Linked DNA regions of Homo sapiens: regions 2 and 3 are each linked to region 1. Evidence: promoter capture Hi-C in human tissues and cell types (Jung and others, 2019). All regions are on one chromosome and are shown on one strand. The core of a region is centred on a gene start or on the middle of the fragment in contact, and the rest is flanking DNA. Distances in the headings are between cores, read along the strand shown. Region 1 holds the start of ZSCAN10 (zinc finger and SCAN domain containing 10). Region 2 holds the start of SEC14L5 (SEC14 like lipid binding 5). Region 3 overlaps ADCY9 (adenylate cyclase 9).

Region 1 (3,593 bases), core at 354-2,853:
ACAGATGAGCGTATTTCTCTGCCTGGCCTGGGAGTAGGAGCTGTGTCTAGTTCAATGAGTGTTCATCCAGCACTTGAAGTTGCTTCAGTGTCTGTTAGCAGAAATTAGGGAATGGCAGTGATTCTGGCCATCTCGAAGGAAAGCATGTAACAACGTCTAGGACAGAAAAAGTCTGTGATAAATGATCAGAAAAATGGTGTTGTGAGGCCGGATGCGGTGGCTCATGCTTATAATCCCAGCATTTTGGGTGGCCAAGGCAGAAGGATTGCTTGAACCTGGGGGGTCAAAGCTGCAGTGAGCCATGTTCGCGCCACTGCACACCAGCCTGGATAAAAGGCGAAGACCCTGTCTCAAAAAAAAAAAAAAAAAAAAGAAAGAAAGAAAGAAAAGAAAAGAAAAGAAAAAAAAAGAGTGGGGGAGGGGGAAGAAAATGGGATTACGTTTCACTGGTTTTTAGTAGCATGCACAAAATAACAAGAAAACTAATCACTGCTCATCCATTGCCGTGCAGGAGCAGCGGGCAGGTACTGAGTGTCTGGCGATTAAGCTCATTTCATCCCAGTCCAGCCCACGCACGAAACAATCACTTCTCCCTTTGCCAAGTGCAAAGACCAAGCTTTGCACTTGGTGACATGCTCAGGGTCACACCAGGTGGAGCCAAGGTTTGCTTTAGGCTGAGAGTGTAGGTCTAGAACACAGTGCCAAAGCTCTGAAACAGAAAAGGAACTGATCTCCATCCTGCTCTGTGCCATTTTCCTAGCCTTAGCCGAAATATCACAGCATGAAACAGAAAAAAAATGAAGATTCCAAATTTCAGCTCTCAGGGCAAGCCACACAGGGAGGCCGGAATCTCCAGGTGAGATCTCTCCAAAAGGTTTCAAAGAGGTGGAATTCGAGACAAGTTGGCTTCAGAGAATCTCTCCCTCCCCCCAGATCTCCAGGACAAAAGCTCTGTTAATATGCACCTCTGTTGGGGGTGGGCTGGGTAGGGAGGCAGGCAGAGGCTCTACAGCCACCATCCAACATTTGAGCAGCTTAATTTGGAGCCCGGGGTGGAGGTGCTGCCACGAGACCCACCCAGGTCACCTGAGAGCCCAGAGTTGGGGAAGGCGGCAAAGGTGGGGTCCTCAGCCGGGAACACTCCCTTTCTCCCTGGACACAGTTGGCAGCTGCCTGATTTGTTGTTTGTTGGAGGGGCCTCCCTCCGCGTGCTGGGCTGAGTGGACAAGGCCCATCAGTCCACCTGGGAGCACGTGAAGCCAGCCTTCTTCAATGTCACAGGAAGTTCTGCGATCTCCCTCGTCCCCAACGCCCCCATCGCGACAGGTCCACCAAGCTGGCTGGCACGAGGCTCCCCAGCAGACCCTCTACATCCTCCCAAGACTCTTCCAGCCCCCACCCCAGCACCAAGGCCTGGAGCCTCCCCTGCTCTCTCCAAGCTGCTGCGAGCTCCTAGCACCCGTCCTGGCAGCCTGCACCCCGACCTCCCTCCAACTCACCACTCGGAGTCCCCACTACACAGGCAGAGATGCTGGGGGGTTTTCTGAGGACTCCAGGGCCAAAGCCAGCCTCCGCCAGCCTGGGGAAGGGCTCTGGGAAAATGGAACAGGAAGTTCCTTGCCCCAGTCCCATCCCATCCAGGTGATGAGGGGCTTCCTAGAGTTAACCCTTAAGCTCCCAGTTTGGGAGCGGGATGGGAAGAGGGCGGGGCCAGTGACATGAAGACAAAGTGAGAAATCCAGATTTCAATCCCAGCCTGTGTGAGAGTGTAACCACCTCCCAAATCAAGACTGGCCTGGTGCCCCTTGCAGGTCTGCCCGTCTTTCCTTTGGGCTAAGAGCTGCCATTTTTAAATGCCCACAGTGTGCTGGCTTCTTTGCTAGGCTTTTCATTCACGTGACTACTCTTTGCAATGGCCTCCTGTGTGCCAGGCACTGTTACAAAGCAGGGGCTAAGGACACAGAGAGAAACTGAAGGAATGAGGCCCTGCTCTCAGGGGCTTACATTCTAGGGCAAAGGAGCAGCGACGGTGCTAGGAAAAAATGGAAGAGGAGGATGTGATGGGGCAGAGTTTGCTCCATCTACACGGTCACCTAAAGTCCTCCCAAGTCCTGCCAGGTGGCTTTTGTCCCAACTTTACCGATGACGAAGCAAGGGCTCCCCGGGAGGGAAGTGACCTAACCAACAGCGTTTGGCCCCAAACTAATTCCATCCCTGTGCTTAAGGTGCCTTCTTGGGTTGTGCCCTTGGCTGCAGCTGGTGCCTTCCTGAGCGTTCTGAGCCCCCGGGGAGCCAGGACCACCTCTCAGGTGTTGGCCGTTCCCCCGGCCTAGACCCCTCGGTCCGTTGGGGCCAGGACCCTCCTGACTGGCTCATCTGACGGGTCTTTGTTTTCCTGCACTTAACACCTGAGCTCATCCTGTTCCTACTTCAGTTGTCTAGTGCTCCCTTCGTACGACGGTCTTTCTCCTTGGTCTGCTCTGCATTCCCCGCGTCCCGCGCCTCGCTCTCCCAGTCGCGGGCTCCTCCCACTCCATAGTTTGTTCAGGGGCGGGGCCAGAAAACCCCGCCCCCAGGGAAGTGGGCCTGAAGGCCAAGGGGCGGGGCGGGGTTCTGTAGGGACGGAGGGGGCGTGTCCGGGGCGGGGCGGGGTGCTGTAGCGCCGGAGCGGGTGTGGCCTTGGCGGGACCAGGCAGCCATTACAGTCTCGGAAGCGAGAGGCGTGGGGCCTGTCTCATCATGCCCGGTTCATTTTTTTTTTTTTTTTTTTTTTTGTAGAGATGGGGTTTCATCATTTTGGCCAGGCTAGTCTTGAACTCCTGAACTCAGGTGATCCACCTGCCTTGGCCTCCCAAAGTGCTGGGATTACAGGCATGAGCCACCGCACTCAGCCTCTTTAATCACCTGAGGTCAGGAGTTCAAGACTAGCCTGGACAACATGGTGAAACCCCATCTCTACTAAAAATTTTTGTTTCTTTTAAAATTGTAATTTTCCCAATTCCACTTATTTTATTTTATTAGAGACAAGGTCTTGCCATATCTCCCAGGCTGGACTCAAACTCCTGGGTTAAAGTGATCCTCCCATCTCGGTCTACCAAGGAGCTGGGACTACAGCTGGGACTCCATGCCATCGAGCGTTCTTTCCCTCTCGTTGCTGAATGATTTTCCTCATTACATCAGTTATTCATTCTGCTATGGGTAGCCCGTGGGCAGTTTTCAGTTTGGGGCTATCTCTAGTGGTTCTCATATGTCTCTGGTGACCATATATGGGACAGCAGTCTGAAGTAGGTGAAGAGCAGAGTGAGAGGTTAGGTTTATCTTTGGGAGGTAAGGACTGCACGTGTGTACTCCGAGGTCTGAGGCCACCGAGGAAGCCTCAGGGACTGGCCTCCGTGTAGAGCTGCTCTCACTGCCCTGGGCATTGGGGACAAGGCCAGGACAAGCAGGACCCCGTGCGTGTTTCCTCGAATGGCTTATGGTCGCTTCAGAAAGACACTGGGTGTTTGTTGGCGTTCGGGCTGCCAGGGCCATCGAATCCGGTTGTCTGCCAGGGTGTGCAGGGGGAGTGGCGCTTTTCAGGTGTAGGAACAGCT
Region 2 (3,593 bases), core at 570-3,069, 1.9 Mb after region 1:
TGAGAGAGACCTCCAGGAACCCACAGATATATAAAACGAATAAATGCAATATTAGAATGTGATGCAGGCTAGGAAGGGAAGAGAGGTGATTTTCACAGGGTGCAGTGACATACTTGAAATATATCAGGGGTTGTCCATCTCCCTGGCCACCTCTGACTTCCCCTGCTTGAAGGGGTGAATTCACCCCACGGTGGCACGTAGTAGGTGCTCAGTAAATGTTGAATGAGTGAATACATGGATGACAGCACTGTCCAGAGCCAATTTCTTGGGTCTTGTAGGCTAAACAGATGAGGAGTGGCAAGGCAGGACTTCTGGGAGCAAGGTTGGTCCCCTGGGAGTCCTGGGAGGGCTGAAAGGGGTTAAGTGTGAGTTAAAATGAGAGTGATGGACAAATGTCACTCTCCCAAGGGAGGCCCCCTTACTCCCTGTTTTATTTATTTATTTACTTATTTATTTTGAGACCGAGTCTTGCTTTGTTGCCCAGGCTGGAGTGCAGTGGCCAGGTAACAGCTCACTGCAGCTTTGAACTTCTGGGCTCAAGGGATCCTCCTGCCTCAGCCTCTTGAGTAGCTGGGACCACAGGCACGTGCCAACACGCCTGGCTAATTTTTTTTTTTTTTTTTTGCGACGGAGCTTTGTTCTTCTTGCCCAGGCTGGAGTGCAGTGGCGCAGTCTCGGCTCACTGCAACCTCCGCCTCCTTGATTCAAGCGATTCTCCTGCCTCAGCCTCCCGAGTAGCTGAGATTACAGGTATACGCCACCATGCCCGGCTAATTTTGTATTTTAGTAGAGACGGGGTTTCCTCATATTGGCCATGCTGTTCTCGAACTCCTGACCTCAGCTGATCTGCCTGCCTTGGCCTCTCAGTGTGCTGGGATTACAGGCGTGAGCCACCGCGCCCTGCCTAAACTAAAAAAAAATTTTTTTGTAGAGATAGGTTCTTGCTATGTTACCCAGGGTGGTCTCCAACTCCTGGGTTCAAGCGGTCCTCCCGCTTCCGCCTCCTAAAGTGTTTGGATTACAGGCGTGAGACATGGCGCCCGGCCTCTTACCTGTTTTAAATTGTCCTTTCTCTCCGCTGGCTCCTTGAGCCCCTTTCCTGCTTATTTTTCTCTCGTTAGAGTTTTTCACTACCTCACACATCATATATTTGCCTTATTTATTGAGTGTCTGTCTCCCCACCGTAGTATAAACTCCACGAGGGCAGGGATTCGTGCGTGTGGCTCACCGGCGGCTCTCCAGCGCCTGGACAGGGCTGACCCCCAGCAGGCGCTCTGTGAAGGTGTGCAGAGTGGGCGAAGGTGCATGCGCGGGCCGTGGGGCGGGGACAGGTGGAGGAGCCAGTCAGACCCAAGTGCAGCGGGACGAGGGCGAGGTTAATCTGAGCAAGAAAAGCGTAAATTCTGCTTATCTACAAATGTAAACAGTACTGTCGGCCAGACGCAGGGTCCGGGGCGGGTCGGCCCGGACTCAGGGTCTGCTTGGAGGCAGAGCTAGATTAGGGCGGGGTCGTCCTGTGGCCTACCATTCCCCGAGGCTGAGGGCCTTGGAGGGCGGGGCCAGTGAAGGGGGAGGGGACTTCCTGAGGTGTGACCAATCTAGAGAAAGGACTGGGCTGAGGGCGTGGTCAAACAAGCGACATCTAAAAATAAGGGGCGGGGCTAGAACCAGGGGGAGTTCGCCTGGGGCGGGGCCAGAGTGGGGCGGGACCAGTTAGGGGGCAGGGCCAACCTGGGCGGGGCCATGGCCGGGGACGTGGGCGGGACCAGGTCAGGGGCGGGGCCAGGCCAGGATCTCCGCTGTCCCGGGTCCTGGAGCTCTCTCGGCCCGGCAGGTTTCGCTCCCGCCCCTCCGGCCTTCCACAGCTGTCCTGGCCGCAGGGTGTTCAAGGCGGGACACACCAGGCTAGAGATCCGCGATCGGGCCCCGCCTCAGGTACTGCGCTCCAGGCCAGGCGGGCGCGGGTAAGCGCTCAGCTCCCGAGCCAGGCGGGCTTCCAGGGCACTTCCCCTAGGCTGCATTCCCAAAGGCTCCCGAGGGCGAGGGTGAGCAAAGCTGCGGGGACCTGTGTGTGCATGCGTGTGCGATTGCCTCTACGTGTGTGTACGTGTGTGTGCATGTGCGCACGGGTGTGTGTGCGTGTGTGCACGTCTGTGCACACCAGGGGAATTGCGTGCGTGGAGCTGGGCAGGTGCGTGTTTCAGGGTGTGTGTGCAAAGTTGGAGGCGTGTGCAAAAGCAGTCCCGTGTGGGAGGGAAACCTGCGTGTGTACATGTGTGTGATAGAGACAGTGCCTGTGAAATGTGGTGAAGGCTGTGTGTGTATGTCAGGGTGTCTGGGAGGAAAATGGGAGGGCAGGTGCAAGGAGACTCGGGGGTGGGCTGTAGGCCAGCAAGTCTGTGGCAAGCTGCGGGGTGCATGCGTGAATAGAACCGTGGGAGTGTAAGAATTGCAAATGTGTGTGTGTCTGTGTGGGTGGCCGTAAGGCTTCTGGGGGCCCTCAGTGTGAAGGGGTGGGGGTAGAGGAAAGTTTGGGGGTGCTGACTGCTCTTGGAAGGCTGAGCGTGGTCTGGGGCCATGGCTAATGACAGGGAAGCTGTTGGGGCTTGGCCTGGAGTAATTTGGGGGGAATATCAGCCTTCTCAATTTGAAGGCTGGGGAGCTGTGTGGGTGGGGCCAGGGGCTGCCCCTTACACTTGGTGGGTGGTGTCCCTGCTTCCCGAGGTGGGAGCTGCAACCTCACCAGTCACTCCTCGCCCCAGGCTCTGTGCACACCCCTGCCTGGTGACCTCCATTGGTGCTCCAGCGTGAACATGGTGCAAAGATACCAGTCTCCTGTCCGAGTCTACAAGTACCCGTTTGAGCTGGTCATGGCGGTGAGTGACTCCTGATTCTTGGGCCCCCATGTGACAGTTGGAGGGGCTTGAGATCAGCTATGGCGGTAGGAAGACGGAGCTCCTTAGACTCCCAGATCAGAAGGAATTAGTGAGTTACTCAGCTGACCTGGTGGGTTTAACTTCTATCCAGTGACCTCTCTGTCCAACCATCCTATCCTCGGCCCAGTGACCAAAACACAAAGTCTTTCTTCCTTCTCCTTGTTGAAGCTGACCTGCTCCCTTACTTTAGACTCTCCTGATAGAAAACAAAGGTATCAGGGGCCAAGCCACTGCTGTCATTTCATATAATGGCATATCACAGTGATAAATGGAATGGTGGTGATAATGACAACAGCTGTTTATTGAATGTTTACAGCACTGTCTTAACAGATGATGTTTCTTCCAATTCCCGATAGCTGTTATTTTCCCATGTAACCTCCATGAAACTGAGGCTTTGACAGGTGAAGGGATGACACTAAGTTCTGTATCTACGCAGAGGTGGAGTCGGGGCTGAGATCCCCACAAAGGAGACTCTAGAACCTCACATTTGACCACAGAGCCCTCCTTCTGCTCACAGACCCCCTTCCCTCCCCTTTAAGGAAGCTGACACTGGGACGAGAGAGAGAATGAGTGGGTAGGTTTGCTTTGTGATGTACTCTGTGTTGTGCAGCAAGTCAGTTGGAGGCCTAGAATTGGCTGCCAGATCCTTGGCCCCCA
Region 3 (3,593 bases), core at 304-2,803, 1.0 Mb after region 1:
GTTTGCAGAGGCTAACGCATACAGAATGCCTCCGTCCACTGTCGGTCTGTCGGCCCACCAGACAGGGTCTACATAGGAACTCCTCTAAGGCAAAGGTCTCGATCACAGAGGTGGCCAACAGGTGACAATCTGCCCAAATGCATACCAGCGGGTCTCCTCCCCAAGTTGCTCCACAAGCATAAAGTTTGGCTGGGGAAAAAAGCTTTTTTAATTTCTGCATCTGACAATGTGATCACTCCCTGGTATTCCCCTCTTCAGAGATATGACCATGGGTGTGGATGAGAGCGGAGGAGCATCTTCATTCTGTCTTCCTAATATTTACACGGGAAAAGAAGATGCCTGTAGATATTTTCTAACAGTTTCATTTTCTGTCTTTGTGACCCTGTATCTATGACAGGAAAAGCCAACAGCTCGAGATAACACGTCTCACCATTTTTTGCTTGTGGCCCAAGGCAGAATACAACAGCCACGGTTCCCTCAGGCCTAGCGGTTTCATCCCAAATGCTGTGGAAGGTCCCTCACCTTAATCAGACCGTTTCTTCATTTTTTTTTTTTTTTTTTTTTTTTTTTTTTGGCGACAAAGTCTCGCCCTATCGCCCAGGCTGGAGTGCAATGGCACGATCTCGGCTCACTGCAAACTCCACCTCCTGGGTTCGAACGATTCTCCTGCCTCAGCTTCCCAAGTGGCTGGGACTAAAGGCGCCTGCGACCACACCCAGCCAATTTTTGCATTTTCAGTAGAGACAGGGTTTCACCATGTTGGTCAGGCTGGTCTCAAACTCCTGACCTCCTGATCTGCCCACCTCGGTCTCCCAAAGTGCTGGGATTACAGGCATGAGCCACCACGCCCGGCCCATTTCTCCATATCTTTAATAACTGTCCCTCACACTTTTTTTTTTTTTTTTGAGACAGGGTCTCATTCTTGTCGCCCAGGCTGGAGTGCAATGGTGCAATCTTGGCTCACTGCAACCTCCGTCTCCCAGGTTCAAGCAATTCTCCTGCCTCAGCATCCCGAGTAGCTGGGATTACAGGTACCTGCCACCACACCTGGTTAATTTTTGTATTTTTAGTAAATATGGGGTTTCACCACGTTGGCCAGGCTGGTCTCAAACTCCTGACCTCAGGTGATCCGCCTACCTCGGCCTCCCAAAGTGTTGAGATTACAGGCATGAGCCACCATGCCTGGCCCCTCACTTTTTAGATTATTTCCAAAATCCTAGCAGTATGCTAAAAATTCCTGCAACCTTCTCCCAGTGACTGGCCACCCTAGATAAGATTTCTCACACTCGTACACCCCATCTGCTGTATCCCCTTCCTGCTTTATGTTTGTTCACAAAACACTTTTTCTATTTTACTTATTTATGGTTTGACTCCCCTGTTGTCCCCTCTATTAGATCTCCCCTATTTGAAGGCCTGGTTTTTGTTTCTTAGAGACAGGGTCTCACTCTGTCGCCCAGGCTGGAATGCAGTGGTGCAATCACGGCTCTCTGCAACCTCGACCTCGTGGGCTCCAGCGATCCTCCTATATTATTGACTTAAAAATTCTTGTCCCCTATTACAAGAGCAGGAATTGTTGTCTGTTTTGTTTACGGCTGTATTGCCAGAACCCAGAACCGTGCCTGGCACGGAGTAAATGATTTGCTGAATGAGTAAGCAAGCCAGGGGTTCCGGGCCTCTGTACTCTGCAAGTCCATCCTGCATTCTCCATTCATACCATAGCAACTTCAAAGGCCCCTCACCCATTCCTGACTCCACATTGTCGCCAAGTCACTTCCAGAAACTTAAAATGCCATTTCCCATTCACATGGTCAAGCCCTTCCCCTCCTGCCAGTCGTTTGTTTAAATCTGGCTTGCAGTCCCATCAAGCTGCTCTTCCTAATGCCACTCAGATCCCATCACCTCCATCACTGCTACTGTAACTTTGGATTGGGCCACCATCACCCCTACCTGGGATTTACTCGACACCTCATTAATCTCTTTCCAACCCACACTCACTAGCTCTGAAAGAGTGAACTTTCTAAAACTGCAAGTCAGATCACCTAAGCCCCCTGTTGAGTGGTTCCCTGACACCTATGGGGTCAAATGCAAACTCCTTCCCACGCTACCCATGGCCTTCCTTGTCCTGATGAACAACTAACAATCGTCCGCCCCCACAGAGAAGCACAGGGCCCAGCCATACCCACCTCTCCGCTCTGCCCTGGTGCTCTTCTGTCCACCTGGAGAGCCACAGCCTGATCTCAGGACCCAGCTCCAGCAGGAGCCCCCTCTAAAGCGCTCCCCACTCCCGAACATACTCCACAACATTTTTAACTGTGAGCTCACGGAGGTTGGGAACTATTAACGCAGGTCAGACGCGCCCCAAAGTGGGGCCGAGCCCAAGAGGGTTCTTGGCTTTGCCCAGGAAATAATTCAAGGGTGAGCCGGTGGCAGGAAAGAAAACACCTTTATTGAAGAGGCAGGCAGTGTTATACGGCTCCATGACTGCTCCTGCAGAGCTGGGCTTTCCCAAAGGCGGAAAGTAGCAGCTCAGGGCAGTTTTGCAATCATACTTATACCTACTTTTTTTTTTTTTTTTTTTTTTTTTTGAGACGCAGTCTCGCCTAGGCTGTCGCCCAGGCTGGAGTGCAGTGGACATGATCACAGCTCACTGCAACCTCCACCTCCTGGGTTCAAGCGATTCTTCTGCCTCAGCCTCCCGAGCACCTGGGATTACAGGCGCACACCACCACACCAGGCTAATTTTTGTATTTTTAGTAGAGACGGGGTTTCACTATATTGGCCACACTGGTCTCCAACTCATGACCACAGGTGATCCACCCGCCTTGGCCTCCCAAAGTGCTGGGATTACAGGCATGAGCCACTGCGCCCAGCCTTACCTTATACCTACTTTTAATTTCCTGTAGAGTAAAGGTAGGCTTAGGCAGACACTTCTAGGAAAAGGGTGGTGGCTTTTGGGTTGTCAGGTCACGGCCATGGAAAGAGGCAGTAACTCCGGGTGTGGCCATGGCGACAGTAAACTAACAAGGCACACTGGTGGGCGTGCCTTGCAGAACGCTGCTTCTGCCCCATCCCTGTATCAGCTAGTCCTCAATTCGGTCTGGCATCTGAACCCCGCCTCTGGAGTCGAGTCCCACCTCCTACCTCACGATCACGGATCCTGCTCCACGATCACGGATCCTGCTCCACATCCACAGTGCCAGGTGCACAGTCAGTGCCAGGGGCACGACACAGATTTCAGAGTGAAGGAATGTGCAGAAATCATGAAACTACCCTTCTGCAAAGCCTGTTCGGATAAATTTGAATGAGAGGAGCTTCCTTCTGTGCTCCCAGGCTAGTTCTAGAAGCCCCTTCTCATTCTATGGATGCCCATTCCTGCAGGGCCGCTACTGGCTGCTTTTTAACCCTGGGATCAGAAAAGGGGGTAAGAGGGAAAGGCTAATACACCCAGTATTGGGGTTTTTTTTGTTTTTGTTGTTGTTGTTTTTTAAGACAGAGTTGCTCTGTCGCCCAGGCTGGTGTGCAGTGGCGCAGCCTCGGCTCACTACAACCTTCTCTTCCCGGGTTCAAACAATTCTCCTGCCTCAGCCTCCCGT

Evidence for each region. The method cuts DNA at HindIII sites, captures the fragments that hold promoters and counts their contacts. A contact is called where the count stands out against the background at its distance.
Region 2: a contact is called between the fragment with the promoter of SEC14L5 here and the fragment with the promoter of ZSCAN10 in region 1, in 1 of the 25 tissues and cell types used here (psoas muscle).
Region 3: a fragment that was not itself captured here is called in contact with the fragment with the promoter of ZSCAN10 in region 1 in 1 of the 25 tissues and cell types used here (dorsolateral prefrontal cortex).

The regions. Positions count from the first base shown.
Region 1 is chr16:3,097,691-3,101,283 of GRCh38, forward strand. It overlaps ZSCAN10 (zinc finger and SCAN domain containing 10), which reads right to left and starts at 1,604. Exons shown (of 6, transcript NM_032805.3): 1 at 1,500-1,604. RefSeq lists an enhancer at 2,357-2,406 and a silencer at 2,567-2,626. The HindIII fragment of the contact is 18,144 bases long and covers 93-3,593 here.
Region 2 is chr16:4,956,511-4,960,103 of GRCh38, forward strand. It overlaps SEC14L5 (SEC14 like lipid binding 5), which reads left to right and starts at 1,820. Exons shown (of 16, transcript NM_014692.2): 1 at 1,820-1,935; 2 at 2,763-2,876. The coding sequence starts at 2,814. RefSeq lists silencers at 1,705-1,914, 1,713-2,008 and an enhancer at 1,812-2,347. The HindIII fragment of the contact is 18,853 bases long and covers 1-3,593 here.
Region 3 is chr16:4,107,818-4,111,410 of GRCh38, forward strand. The region is part of intron 2 of ADCY9 (adenylate cyclase 9); the gene reads right to left. Among named protein-coding and RNA genes, the nearest start is that of ADCY9, 6.8 kb to the right of the region's middle. RefSeq lists an enhancer at 625-1,124. The HindIII fragment of the contact is 6,430 bases long and covers 1-3,593 here.